Regions from separate parts of the Homo sapiens genome. Here region 1 is linked to region 2. Evidence: promoter capture Hi-C in human tissues and cell types (Jung and others, 2019). All regions are on one chromosome and are shown on one strand. The core of a region is centred on a gene start or on the middle of the fragment in contact, and the rest is flanking DNA. Distances in the headings are between cores, read along the strand shown.

Region 1 (5,678 bases), core at 216-2,715, 1.1 Mb after region 2:
AAGAGACCTAAATTAAGAATTGGAATCCCTGGATTCCAGCTGGCACTAGTTCCACAAACTTACAGTCGCATGCCTTAGATAATAAACCACTCTGGTTCTCAGCTTCACCTTTCATAAACGTGTTAGAGATACTTGTATCTTCCTATTTCATCACTGGTTGAAGTCATTCATTTATTACTAAATACCTAACATTGAAACTCAGTTCAGGTGAAGGGGAGACTCATTTGGCATAATACTAGGAATATCATAGCAGAGGAGCACCATATTATAATCCCAGTTCTATGTTCACATCACATATGGAAAATAGCAATGAAAGTATTGATTGAATCAATTTACAAAATATTCACATAGTAAGACATCCCCAAGAGCTAAATAACATATCTTGAAATTTTTTTAAGAATAGATAAGAAATCGAAATTTAATTACCAAATATTTCCCTGTGTTCTAAAACTATTTTCCACTGCTACTCTTCCACTTAAAGCTATTAGCTTCAATTTATTTAGCAAAGACTGTAAAGTGAGGGGAAAAGATAAAATAGGCATATAATCTTTGGGAAATATCCCAAGAAATGCACAGAAAAAAAAGGAAATTTTAACCATCCTAATTTAAAAAAAATCCATAAACTCTATAACAGAGACAACATACATGTCTAATAAATTTGGCGATCATAAAAGGTAAACAAATATCCTAGGAGGAAGGATTTGGAGAAGATGAAGAAACTGGATGTTCCATGCAAGAAGCTCACAGCATTTCCACTATGCTTCACATTCCAACGCCACAATTCATTCCTTAATCCAATTTTGATTAACACTTTCACAAAATCCACAAATCTGATTTCCCATCTCTTATCACTGTCAGTTCACAGTAACACTTGGCACCTTCCATTTCTTCTATTAACCACCTCAGCCAACCTACCTGGTTAAAATAAAAATGATGAAACTAGCTTATCAAAACCAGCAACATCTCAGTCTTGATTATAAAATATAAGTTGAGGCCATTTTCAAAGAACAGTGTAAATCCAGAAATTAATATAAGCAGCCTTTATAAGTTTGAAGCACACAATAAAAGAATGTCATCTTCTGAAAGTTATTTAAATGCAAAGTAAAGTAGTAAATACGGGAGGAAAAGCTGCTAGTCTTTTGCTTTTTATTCTATAATTTACTTTAATACTTATAAGAAATCTCTATTACTAAATCCCTACAAAAATTTCAAAGTAATGCTTTTTATATTAGAGCATCAAAATGAAAAGTCTTAGGGATGGTTGTAATGAATTATTTTGTTCTTATTCCACGTTTTGATTTAGCACTCTAATCACATCCTAACAAACATAAAGGGAACAGATGTTTTGGCATCCTCACAGAGATCCAAAATTCCCAGTGCCTCCACCCCCCAAAACACACACACAGTGATAGATGGATTTCAAAAAACAACAAAGGGTTGGTTATCAGTATCTTTAGATGAATGCTGTTAGTACTATGAGCTCACATCATCAGAAGCTGCTGGGGAGAATCCTGCTTATCTGAGTGGCTTCTGAAAATATGCTGCTGGTCAAAACAGCACCAGGCCCAGGGAGTTGAAAACATCTTTGGGGGTAACTCTGGACCTATGGAAGTGTCTGAGCCAGTATCTAATATTTAATTACTCCAATATCTAATTACTTCTGTGAGGGCCTAGCTGTATGAAATATGATTATCTTAAGAAGTTTCCAGCCATTGGAAACCAGAGAGGTAGTACTGCATAGTGGAAAGAGCACTGAACTAGATGAAACATGTTTGGGCTTGGAGCCCAACTTTGTCACTTACTTGATCATGACTCCTGCATAGCAATTCATGTATCTAAACCCCAAGGGTTAAAGCAAATCTCCTAGAGTCCCTCTGAAGCTTTAAAAGCTATGAGTCTCCATAGACAAAAATATGCATATGCTTTTAGCAAAACTTTCCTTGCAACTCACTGGATTCATTCATGATTTAAAAACAAATATAATCGGGGAGAAAAACACTCATTCTCATCTACGGCATTTTATCATTAATGCTAAATATGTATATACACATAAGACATGTAATATGTATGATATAAATAATCCCAACTTGGAATTAAGTAACTAGCACCCGTTAAATTGTGAAATAAAAAGTTCTTCTTTAGTTGGCAGGTTATTCTAATTGCTGTTAAATGGCCTTAATCAAATAGACAGCTCAATATTAGAAAACAAGCAAAGTATGTATAATCAGAATATATAATTATCTTTCAAAGTTTCAAGTTATAAGATGCTATTAACCCTCACGCTGCCTGAGATCACACAAAAAAAGGCAGTATTTAAATATAAAAACACTATCAAATAATCAGGTGTTTGGGAGGTTTCAAAAATGGTTTCCTGTTGGGCAAGGTGGCCCAAAAACGGTTTCCCACTAGTAAATTATTTTTTCTTTCTGCTGGAAGCTGTGTGCCACCATATAAAGATAGGTTGGCTCTTTTTTATCTCCAATCCAATCCCCCTCCCTAAAAAAATCATCCAGCAGTCTAAATTACATTGATAATGTTAAGAGTTCTTAGACATGAACAATATAGAGGCCTTGCCAGACCTGGAACACCCCTCCACTTCCAGCCAAGACAGTTAACACTAGTTACTCAGATAAATGGTTACCCAAAGCATGTGCTCCATAGGCACTCATTATTCCCTGGGTGCATTAGAAACAACCAAACCACCATACTAAAAAATCCGGTTAAACCAAGCCAGACAATCTACTATTCCTTTCACCTGCCCTGTGCTTTCCTACTCTCATGGCATTGCTCATGATATTTCCTTTCCATTCCTGGACACACACTGTTCCTGTTGTGCCTGTTGAAATCTAAGACCCAACTTTTTCCTCCCTTGCAAACCTTAAAGAGATATTTTGACTCCTTGGATACTTTATGCCATTTGACCTTTTCTTATTCTACCTCTGATCATAATTAATGTGACCTTAACTAGATTATTACTTTAAAGTCTTATTTGTCCTTGCTGATCTGAACTGATGACTGAGTAAGAAAACTGACGACTGAGTAAGAAAAGCTCAGTAGGCCAGGCGCGGTGGCTCACACCTATAATCCCAGCACTTTGGGAAGCCAAGGCAGGTGGATCACCTGAAGTCAGGATTTCGAGACCAGCCTGACCAACATGGTGAAACCTCGTCTCTAATCAAAATACAAAAATTAGCCGGGTGTGGTGGTGGGAGCTGTAATCCCAACTACTTGGGAAGCTGAGGCAGGAGGATCACTTGAACCTGTTGAACGCGGGAGGTGGAGGTTGCAACGAGCCAAGATCACGCCATTGAACTCCAGCCCAGGCAACAGAGGGAGACTCCGCCTCAAAAAAAAAAAAAAGAAAAGAAAAAGAAAAAAGCTCAGTAATGACAAGTGAACTGGTTTACACTTAACAAGTTATAGTGCTAAGAATATGAAGTCTGTGTCTTCTACCAGCATCCAGGAAATAGTAACAGGCTAGCTTATTAATTTGCAAGTAGAATAAAATTTCAGACTCCTCACAATTTTTGATGATCCAGAGAGAAAATGGCAAGAAAAAAAAGGAAGAAACAAATAAACTTTCCTTACCTACCTTTTGGTCATTAAGTTTTAATTTTAAAAATTATCAAAACCTACTTAATTTAGAAATCATTACATAAAATTATATACTACAAAATTAGCTAGGCACTCCATATATGTGATAAGAATAAATCTGACAGCTGAATTCTTAGTTCATTCTGAAACTGACCTGAGCAAACCAAGTAAATGATAATATTCTTTGAAGTGAAAAGGTTTCTCTCTTCAACCAAATATTCAAATTTGTAGCATTCAGCAAGAAAGGTCTACTCACCTATTCAACCACATCAAGCAAATTAACCTCAACAATCAATGAAACGTCGTTTAACCTCCTTACCATCCCAAACATGACTGATTGATATGCAACACAAATTATTTTTGATATGCTACCTCTGGCATCTGATAATTATGGTATTAAATAAAAGATAATCAGCATTCATGTGCTCAGGGAAAGGGATAAATGCAGACTCTGCTGATCAGGAGTGTAAATTGAAATACCATTTTTTATAGGGCAATTTAGGAAAGACAAACCAAAAGCCTTTAAAATGTAAAGCTTTGACAGACAATGCAATTTCATTTCTCGTGATTTATCCTAAAGAAATAAAGATGTACACAAAGATTTAGCTTTAAGAATATTTACTACAGTGCTGTTCATAATGACAAAAGCTGGAAATAACATAAATATCCAAGAACAGGAAAGCAGTTAATTAATCCACAGCATCACTTACAGTGAAATACCGTTTGGTCATTAAAAATTATGCAAGTAGCATATTTACTGAAATAGAAAAATTGTTTTTTGTTTTTTTTTTTTTGAGACGGAGTCTGGCTCTGTCCCCCAGGCTGGAGTGCAGTGGCGCAATCTCAGCTCACGGCAAGCTCCGCCTCCAGGGTTCATGTCATTCTCCTGCCTCAGCCTCCCGAGTAGCTGGGACTACAAGCGCCCGCCACCACGCCCGGCTAATTTTTTGTATTTTTAGTAGAGACAGGGTTTCACCGTGTTAGCCAGGATGGTCTCGATCTCCTGACCTCGTGATCCACCCGCCTCAGCCTCCCAAAGTGCTGGGATTACAGGCGTGAGCCACCGCGCCCAGCCGGAAAAATTGTTTATAATGTAGCAAGTGGCAAAAAAGTTATAAAACAGTTTGTGCAGCTACTTTTAAAAGCTATCAGCTTATATACACATTAAAAGAACCAGCTTTGCATGCAGACATATGCAATTTTTACTTTCTTCTTTTTGCTTGTGTCTTTTCCTACAATTAATGTTTTAGTTGTATAATTTAAAATATGCATATTTTTAAGAGAATGTATATTAATGATTGCTTAATTTGAGCCACTATTTATATAACTTATATTATGTCTAGCCCTATAAAGACTGTGAGTAACATAAAGACATATAAATAACATACCAGTTTAAGAAGTCGGAAAACAGAAAAAGGGTAAGGAGGCAGCAGTTAATTCTATAGAGAACCCAAAACAAAATGGGTACTAAACATGAACATTAACTTTAGCATTAATTTCCTGCAGCTTATTATCCATAGTAAAGAGAGTCAATACACTCTCACAGTATCTGATGAGAGAAAATATTAATTCTAAACAAAAATCCTGAGGATTTAGGAACAGAAACATGTTTTCACTCAAAAGAAGAATCTGTCTTTGGGGTTTTATACTAATAACAAAATAAACTGTTATTTTCTACAGGGACTTTACTAAAGATATTGGTTGACTCCCAAAAAATCGACATGATTATAATTCAGTATCAAAAAATACTGTTTTTAAGAATGAAACTTTAAAAGCCTATAAGAATGGGACATTAGATTAATATTATAGTTTGTCTATGATGTACTAATATAAAGCACCTGTAAAAGTACATGGCTCAGAGAAGGTGCTCAGTGTTGGTTTTCTTTCCCTCTCACTTAACCTAAACAGACTCTAATTGTGTCAACACCACACCAGTTGGAGACAAATATGGCAATCCAATTACTAAGGAAACACCTCCAATGTGCCAGACACTATGAAAACACATAATGAAATAATTTCAAAAGTTTTTTCTAACAGAAACATTTTATTTTCCCCCAAATAATATATGAGTGTGTATGTATGTA
Region 2 (6,363 bases), core at 31-2,530:
TTCAAGATGAAAACGGACTGATCTTCTTCATTCTCTGTTGACATGAAAGTCTGGCCATGGAACCTAGAGCTGGAAAGTGGCCTTGGGGTCCCTTTAATCTCTGTCTCACATTTTAGAAAAGGCCGTTTGACTTGCCCAAAGTCACGCAGCAAATTGGTGTCAGACTCATGGGAAAAACCCCGGTCTCTTGAGTCTCATCTCAATGTTGATATTTCTCAACTTGCTGCGTTCATAATGTTTGCTTATCACTGGGAACATGTCAAAGGGGTAATTCTCAGGCTCAAACAAAATTTAGAGCAGATTTGAGTTAAAAAATGTTACCATTTCCATGACTAGAAAGTGAATTGAGACACTTATATTACTTTTCAGAATGTACCCACTCCAAGTAGCATCCATTCTTCTTTCCAGGGTTCACTGACTAGCCACTGGGAAAGGCTCCAACCAGAAATGCTGATCATTAATCTGTATAAATCCGTAGAAGCTTTAATTGGGATTCCATCTGCTTAAGGCCCTGTCCCCTGTACTTTCATTTTCCTTCCTCCAGAGGGCGCCTTATAACCATCATCATATCAGCATCGTCATCCTCCTCCTCCGGACAAGCCTTACAATGCCCAGAAGATAAAAGCTCTTAGGAGGTGAGTTTTACATTACTCAGTTGAAGGGCTTTCTAACGCAGGCCTCAAGTTTTACAAGGTGGACATCAGTGCGGTTATGGGGCCTGTGGGGTGCAGGCCCTTGACTTCCTCCACCACATTGGTCGTTAATATCTCATCCTTAGGGAAAAAGACCTTCCGCTCCCTTTGGGGGTTACTAAGCTGAGGAGCCAGACCGAGTTAACTGTCTCACTCTGAACTTAGAGGAAAAGTTCCCTAACTTTTGGCAAGGCTTTTATGTTTTCATTTTTTAAAGTAATTTCCATGTTTCTTATCAATTCCGGCGTTTTCCCACATGCCTGAGAGTCTGCCCTCCAAGTGTACCTGGAATTCAGGTTACAGGTTTTCCTTTTCAGGGCAGGGTGCCCTCCCATCTAACCTCTCTACCCAGTCTCCCCCAAACAAGCTGAAGGCACTTACATTGGCATGTTGCTAGGCATAAGGTTACTGCAAGCAGCAACAAAGTCCGCGTATCCACAAAGCTGAGCATGTCTAGCACTTAGACATGCAGACTCCTTGTGTCGCAGAGCCCCTGGGTCACCGGCGGAGGTATCACCTGGCGGGCGCGGGCATGCAGTCGTGGCCAGTACCTCCAACTTAGCCGAAACCTCCTGCTGCCGTGGTGCTAAAATAATAAAGCCCGGATCTGCCCTATTTATACGGCAAAAGTTTCCCTGGCCCTAGGGTGCCTCCAAAAGGGCCTCCACCAATGGGAGGGCTGGGGCTGGGGGCCCGGGCAGCCACAGCTGGGAGGAGCCTGCGGGGGCGCAGAGGAGGGAGCGAATGGGGGAAGGGACGTGGCCACGGGGCTGGCTTCTTAAATTGGTTCCATTCTTTTTGAGGACGTGGACACTTTTGAGGCTTTCAAGGGGAAACTCTGACTCGTTGTCTGCATACCTCCGCCCTCCGCATCCTCCCGCCCTCCCCCGCCCTTTCCAAGTTTGGAAACACTATGGGACACGTCGGAGTGCTCTGCAGCCCCGACATGGGCAGAATTTGCAGATCTCCGGCGATCAAAGCAGGAGCTGTCCAGTCCCGCCTCACCTGTGCCCTGTAGGCCACTTGTAGGGTGGAGGGCTCCAGCGGGAGCGGAGGGGGCAGAGAAGGAGGGAGGGAAGACTCGATAGCGTGGCGCAGCCGGAGCCCGCCTCCCCGCCCCTCCACCCCTGCACCCCGCCCCCAGCCCCGTCCAGCTTTTCTCTAGCTTTGGGGCTCGTGTGCGCCCACTGTTTCAGCAGTGATGCACTCTCTTTGTCTTATGACTTCGGGAAAGGGCGGGTCCTGTCTGTGGAGGGCTGGGTTGCAGTCGGAGGGCGCCTTTTGTTGGCAGGTGGGCTGGGGAGCAGGCTCGAGGCTGCTTGGCACCCGGCTACAGGGAGGATAGGCTTTGCGAACTCTAGACTAGACCGAGTCACCTGGGGAAGTCCTTCGACCTCCTAGCTTGCCTTTGCTGAGGCTCATTCCAAAGAGGGTCTTTTGGGGGATGGTCTGGCACTCCGACACGACTCCAACCGACCTGGAGACCGAGAACTTATTTCTCAGTCTCTCCTTTCTGAGGCTGCGGTGGGGGATCTTTCATGGTTTCCAGTCTCCCCTCCCCTTCTCCATGGGCTCCTTGTCTGGATTTACCAGTTCTACCCTGAGCCTGGACCCTTCAACCCTCCCGTGAGCCCCCCGGTCCCTCTTGACCTTGCTGCTTACTCTCTGTCCCATCTCTTACAGCCACACCCAAGCACCTCCCCTAGCACATCCAGAGGCCCTTCTGATTCGAGCTTGGGGTCTTCGTAGTCTTCGCTGGTAACACCCCAAGCAGTGCGCCCACCAACGTGGATGTTAACTCTCTCCCCAGCACCCAACTTCCCTCTTCTCTGGCCGCCTCCATCCAACCCTCCACTCCCTACTAGGGAGAGGAGGAACTGGTACTTTGACCCTGAGGTGGGAGGCCAAAGGTCCTGTGCCTTTTTCTAAAGCCTCTTGGGATGGCATTCCAGGCCCTAGGTTTGAAAGGCTGTGTGTGTGTGTGTGCGCGCGCGCGCGTGTGCGTGTGTGTGTGTGTGTGTGTGTGTGTGTCAGGCCTCTCCTCTACTTGCCTAAGGTCCCCATGAGGCAGCGGGGGCCTAGTTAGAGTGCTGCTCTATCCCAGAAGTCATCGCAAAGGGGGCATCTTTAGGTCAGTTCTGTCTCTAAGAAACAGAAGCAAGTGGGCTGTAGTTCCCTGAGAATCTTTTTCCCTTCCTTCCCCCCACCCCCTCCCCGCTTTTTTTGCTTTGCCTTAAGGAAGAATTTCTGCAGAAGTTAACTCCATCAGCAGCTTCTGTAAATAAAAGGGACTATTCTAAAGCAGGTTACTCTTTCTAAATGTAAAAGAAGAAAAAAAGGTTAATGCAAGTAAAAGTGGATAACCAAAAACTATAATAAACTCTTGTTTTATTCTAATTAAAGGCACTCACTTGGGAGACCACTTTGGATGATTTTTTGAAGTAACTGGGAGTGAAAGAATTTGAAAGGGTTACTGGTCATTCCTAGAAGGGGGTTTACAGGGAGCAATCCACATTCAAATTTTTTTCTAACTAGGCAACAATGTTTGAAGTTTTCTAGGTTCTAGGAACAACAACAACAAAAGACCTGAGGTTGAATTGTATATTCCAAGAACATTTTTAACATTTCCCTGAAATATCACCGTTACAGAACTAACAAAAAACTTTTAAAGTGGAAATCATTTTTATCAGGAAAGAAAAACTTCAATACTACATCATAACAAATTTTTTTCTGCATATCAGAAGAGTGAGAAATGATTTCTAAGAATCATTGTTACCACTGTGCTGAATTACCTTTGCAGGGCATATGTGTGTATTTGTCCTGTGTTGCTGAGAGTCAGAGACTAATTCTGAGCAAAATGACTCAGGGTGGTAATGCAACAGATTTATGAAAGAAACCCTCCAAATACCCTTCAGTGAGGTTATCTGATAACGCTTCTGGGGTCAAGTTGGCTCAATCATTGGATTTGCAATAGATATCCCAAGTTTTAAACATTTCATTGTAGGTTTTGTTGTTGTTGTCAAAATAGTTTAAAACATAGAATGTTTTTAGAAGTGTGATTATAATTTCTCTTTTAGCCAAAAAAGAAAAATCCTCAGCAAGTTTTTGAGAATTAGAGGACTGTAAATTGAAGCAGACATCTATAAACTTAGAGGGAAAACGTCTCTGCTAAAGGCAGCAGAGTGAACTGATAACTTGAAAAGCATTCCTGGAAACTGATGCAAATACCAAATGCCGCTGTGCTCCCTCCCTGCTGATGTGGCAGGGTTTGAAGCAGGCAGCCGTCAGCATTTGGTGGGAGGCCCTGGACCTAGAAACAAAAAATGAAAGTGGAGAAAACCAAACAAGAATCTTTCTTTCTTAAAGTGAGAATCAAGTTCTAATTGCAGCTGTTTTTCCATATAACTTGGGGGAAAATAGTTGATTAGGTGTTTGTTTTAAAGGAGGAATTTTTAGTGGTCAGTTAGATCTCTGTTAAATATTTTTGTGACTCCAAATAAGGAGCAGTTTTTCCTGGGGATGGGGGTGGGACTGGTAGAGCTGTGAGAGCTGACCCAGAACCTGAACTGAATGCCCTGGTGAGGGCCCTGATGGTTCTAGTGTGGGGAGAGGGGAGAGGGAGGGAGGAGAAAATGAGTAGAAGGAAAAACAAGTAAGGGGTGGGGTGGGGTCAAGACTGAGAGTAGAGGGATGGAAGAAGGGAGGCAGAGGAGACTAAAGATTCCTACAACTTTGGTGCTAGACGGTTAATACCTGGGTTCCTATGCCCAAATTATTTTCTATGAAAGAAAAGATAATTTCTTTAGCTTCCTATAACCCACTGATTACAAACTGGGCCACATGTTTATATATGGCAAGAAAATGGTTGAGAGTCTGGCTAATACAGAAATGCAGAACAGCCTGACGAGGCCCTGATGTCTTAATCTTATATTCCTTTCTTTGATCAAAGGTAAACATCGGACTGACATCTCCTTTCAAACATTCATTGAGGATCTACTCTGTGAGAAGAAGCAATACCATGTTATCTCATTCTAGTTCCAGTTCTAGTTGACTTGATTGTCAAACGACTGCTAAGAAGGTATTTGCTGAGAATTAATGTGGTAGCTGAAGAGTTAAGTGCTGGTTTTTAATTTTGTATTTATTTATTTATTGAGAAGGTCTCACTTTATCACCCAGGCTGGAGTGCAGTAGTATGATCTGGGGGCACTGCAGCCTCGAATTCCTGGATTCACGTGATCCTCTTGCCCCAGCCTCCCTAGTGGATGGGACTACAGGTGCATGCCACCATGCCAGGCTAATTTTTTGTATTCTTTGTAGAGATGAGGTTTCACCATGTTGCCTAGGCTTTTCTTAAACTCCAACTGAGCTCAAGTGATCCACCTGCCTCTGCCTCTTAAAGTGCTTGGATTACAGGTGTGAGCCACTGTGCCCAGCAAGGGCTGATTTCTTTCTGTGATATTTGTTTGAAAGGCATGGAGATTCCTGCTCTGTGTCATATCAATTAGGATATTCAGTTCCCATTGATTATTTAAATGAGTCAAGATATATATATATATATTTTTTTTTTTTTGAGACAGAGTTTTTGCTCTGTTGCTCAGGCTGGAGTGCAATGACACGATCTCAGCTCACTGCAACCTCTGCCTCTTGGGTTCAAGCGATTCTCCTGCCTCAGCCTCCCAAGTAGCTGGGATTACAGGTGTCCACAACCACCCCTGGCTAATTTTTCTATTTTTCAGTAGAGAGGAGGCTTCACCATGTTTGCCAGGCTAGTCTGGAACTCTTGACCTCAGGTGATCCACCCACCTCGGCCTCCCAAAGTGCTAGGATTACAGGCATGAGCCACCTCGCCCAGCTGGTAAGATGTATGTTTACTCAAGCAATATTTAGTGTTATGCCAGGCACTTACTGGGTTGGTGGGTATATAATTATGAAACAGAATGCCAAGGTCATTGCCCTCAGGGGGCTTATAGTCTGTTGGAGGATAGAGAAGAGTGTGATGAATACTGTAATGGAGGAATAGAATGCTTACATGTTTATGGGAGGATTTAGGATGGACACCTCATCTAGATTCAGATAAGTGGAATCAAGGAGGGCTTCCTGGAGGATGCAACATCCTTGTTCAACCCTTAAATACAAACAAAATTTTAAAAAGAGGTGTGAGAGTGGTGTGGGCACAGAGGCATTGAAAAATTTGGCAATCTGAGGAATGGAGCATTTCAGTACGATGGGATTGTGGTGGAAAAGAGGGAGGATAGAGGAAGGAGCTAGAGATGAGATTGGTGGTTTTGGCAGGGACCAGATCAAAAAGGACCTTTTAGGCTGTATTCTGGTGTTTGTGTTTTCTCAAGTGTGCTATGGGAGTGTTTAGATTATTTTAAACAGAGAGGGTAGGAAACCAGAGAGTGTTTTGAATAAGATGACTGGGGCTGCAGTGTGGAGAAACGATTAGAAGGGGAGCACAGTAGAGACAGGGAGAACAGTAAGGAGACTGCAGCAGGAATTCTGAGGGGAAATGATGGTGGCCTGAACTAGGATAGATGTGGTGGAGCTCAAGAGAAGTTGATGAGCTATAGAAATGTTTCAGAAGTAGAAGAAAAGTGCTCTGATGTTTGGTAATGGGGAGAGAGAGAGAGAGGAAGAATTCAAGGGGATGACTTAAGGAGCACTGCCA

Evidence for each region. Contacts are between HindIII fragments. The study calls those that stand out against the background at their distance.
Region 1: a fragment that was not itself captured here is called in contact with the fragment with the promoter of COL1A2 in region 2 in 1 of the 25 tissues and cell types used here (dorsolateral prefrontal cortex).

The regions. Positions count from the first base shown.
Region 1 is chr7:93,280,914-93,286,591 of GRCh38, reverse strand. The region is part of intron 12 of VPS50 (VPS50 subunit of EARP/GARPII complex); the gene reads right to left. Among named protein-coding and RNA genes, the nearest start is that of VPS50, 51 kb to the right of the region's middle. The HindIII fragment of the contact is 7,220 bases long and covers 1-5,075 here.
Region 2 is chr7:94,389,812-94,396,174 of GRCh38, reverse strand. COL1A2 (collagen type I alpha 2 chain) reads right to left here and starts at 1,280. Exons shown (of 52, transcript NM_000089.4): 1 at 1,074-1,280. The coding sequence starts at 1,143. COL1A2-AS1 (COL1A2 antisense RNA 1) reads left to right here and starts at 3,983. Exons shown (of 6, transcript NR_147206.1): 1 at 3,983-4,057; 2 at 4,642-4,770; 3 at 5,429-5,547. The HindIII fragment of the contact is 19,147 bases long and covers 1-6,363 here.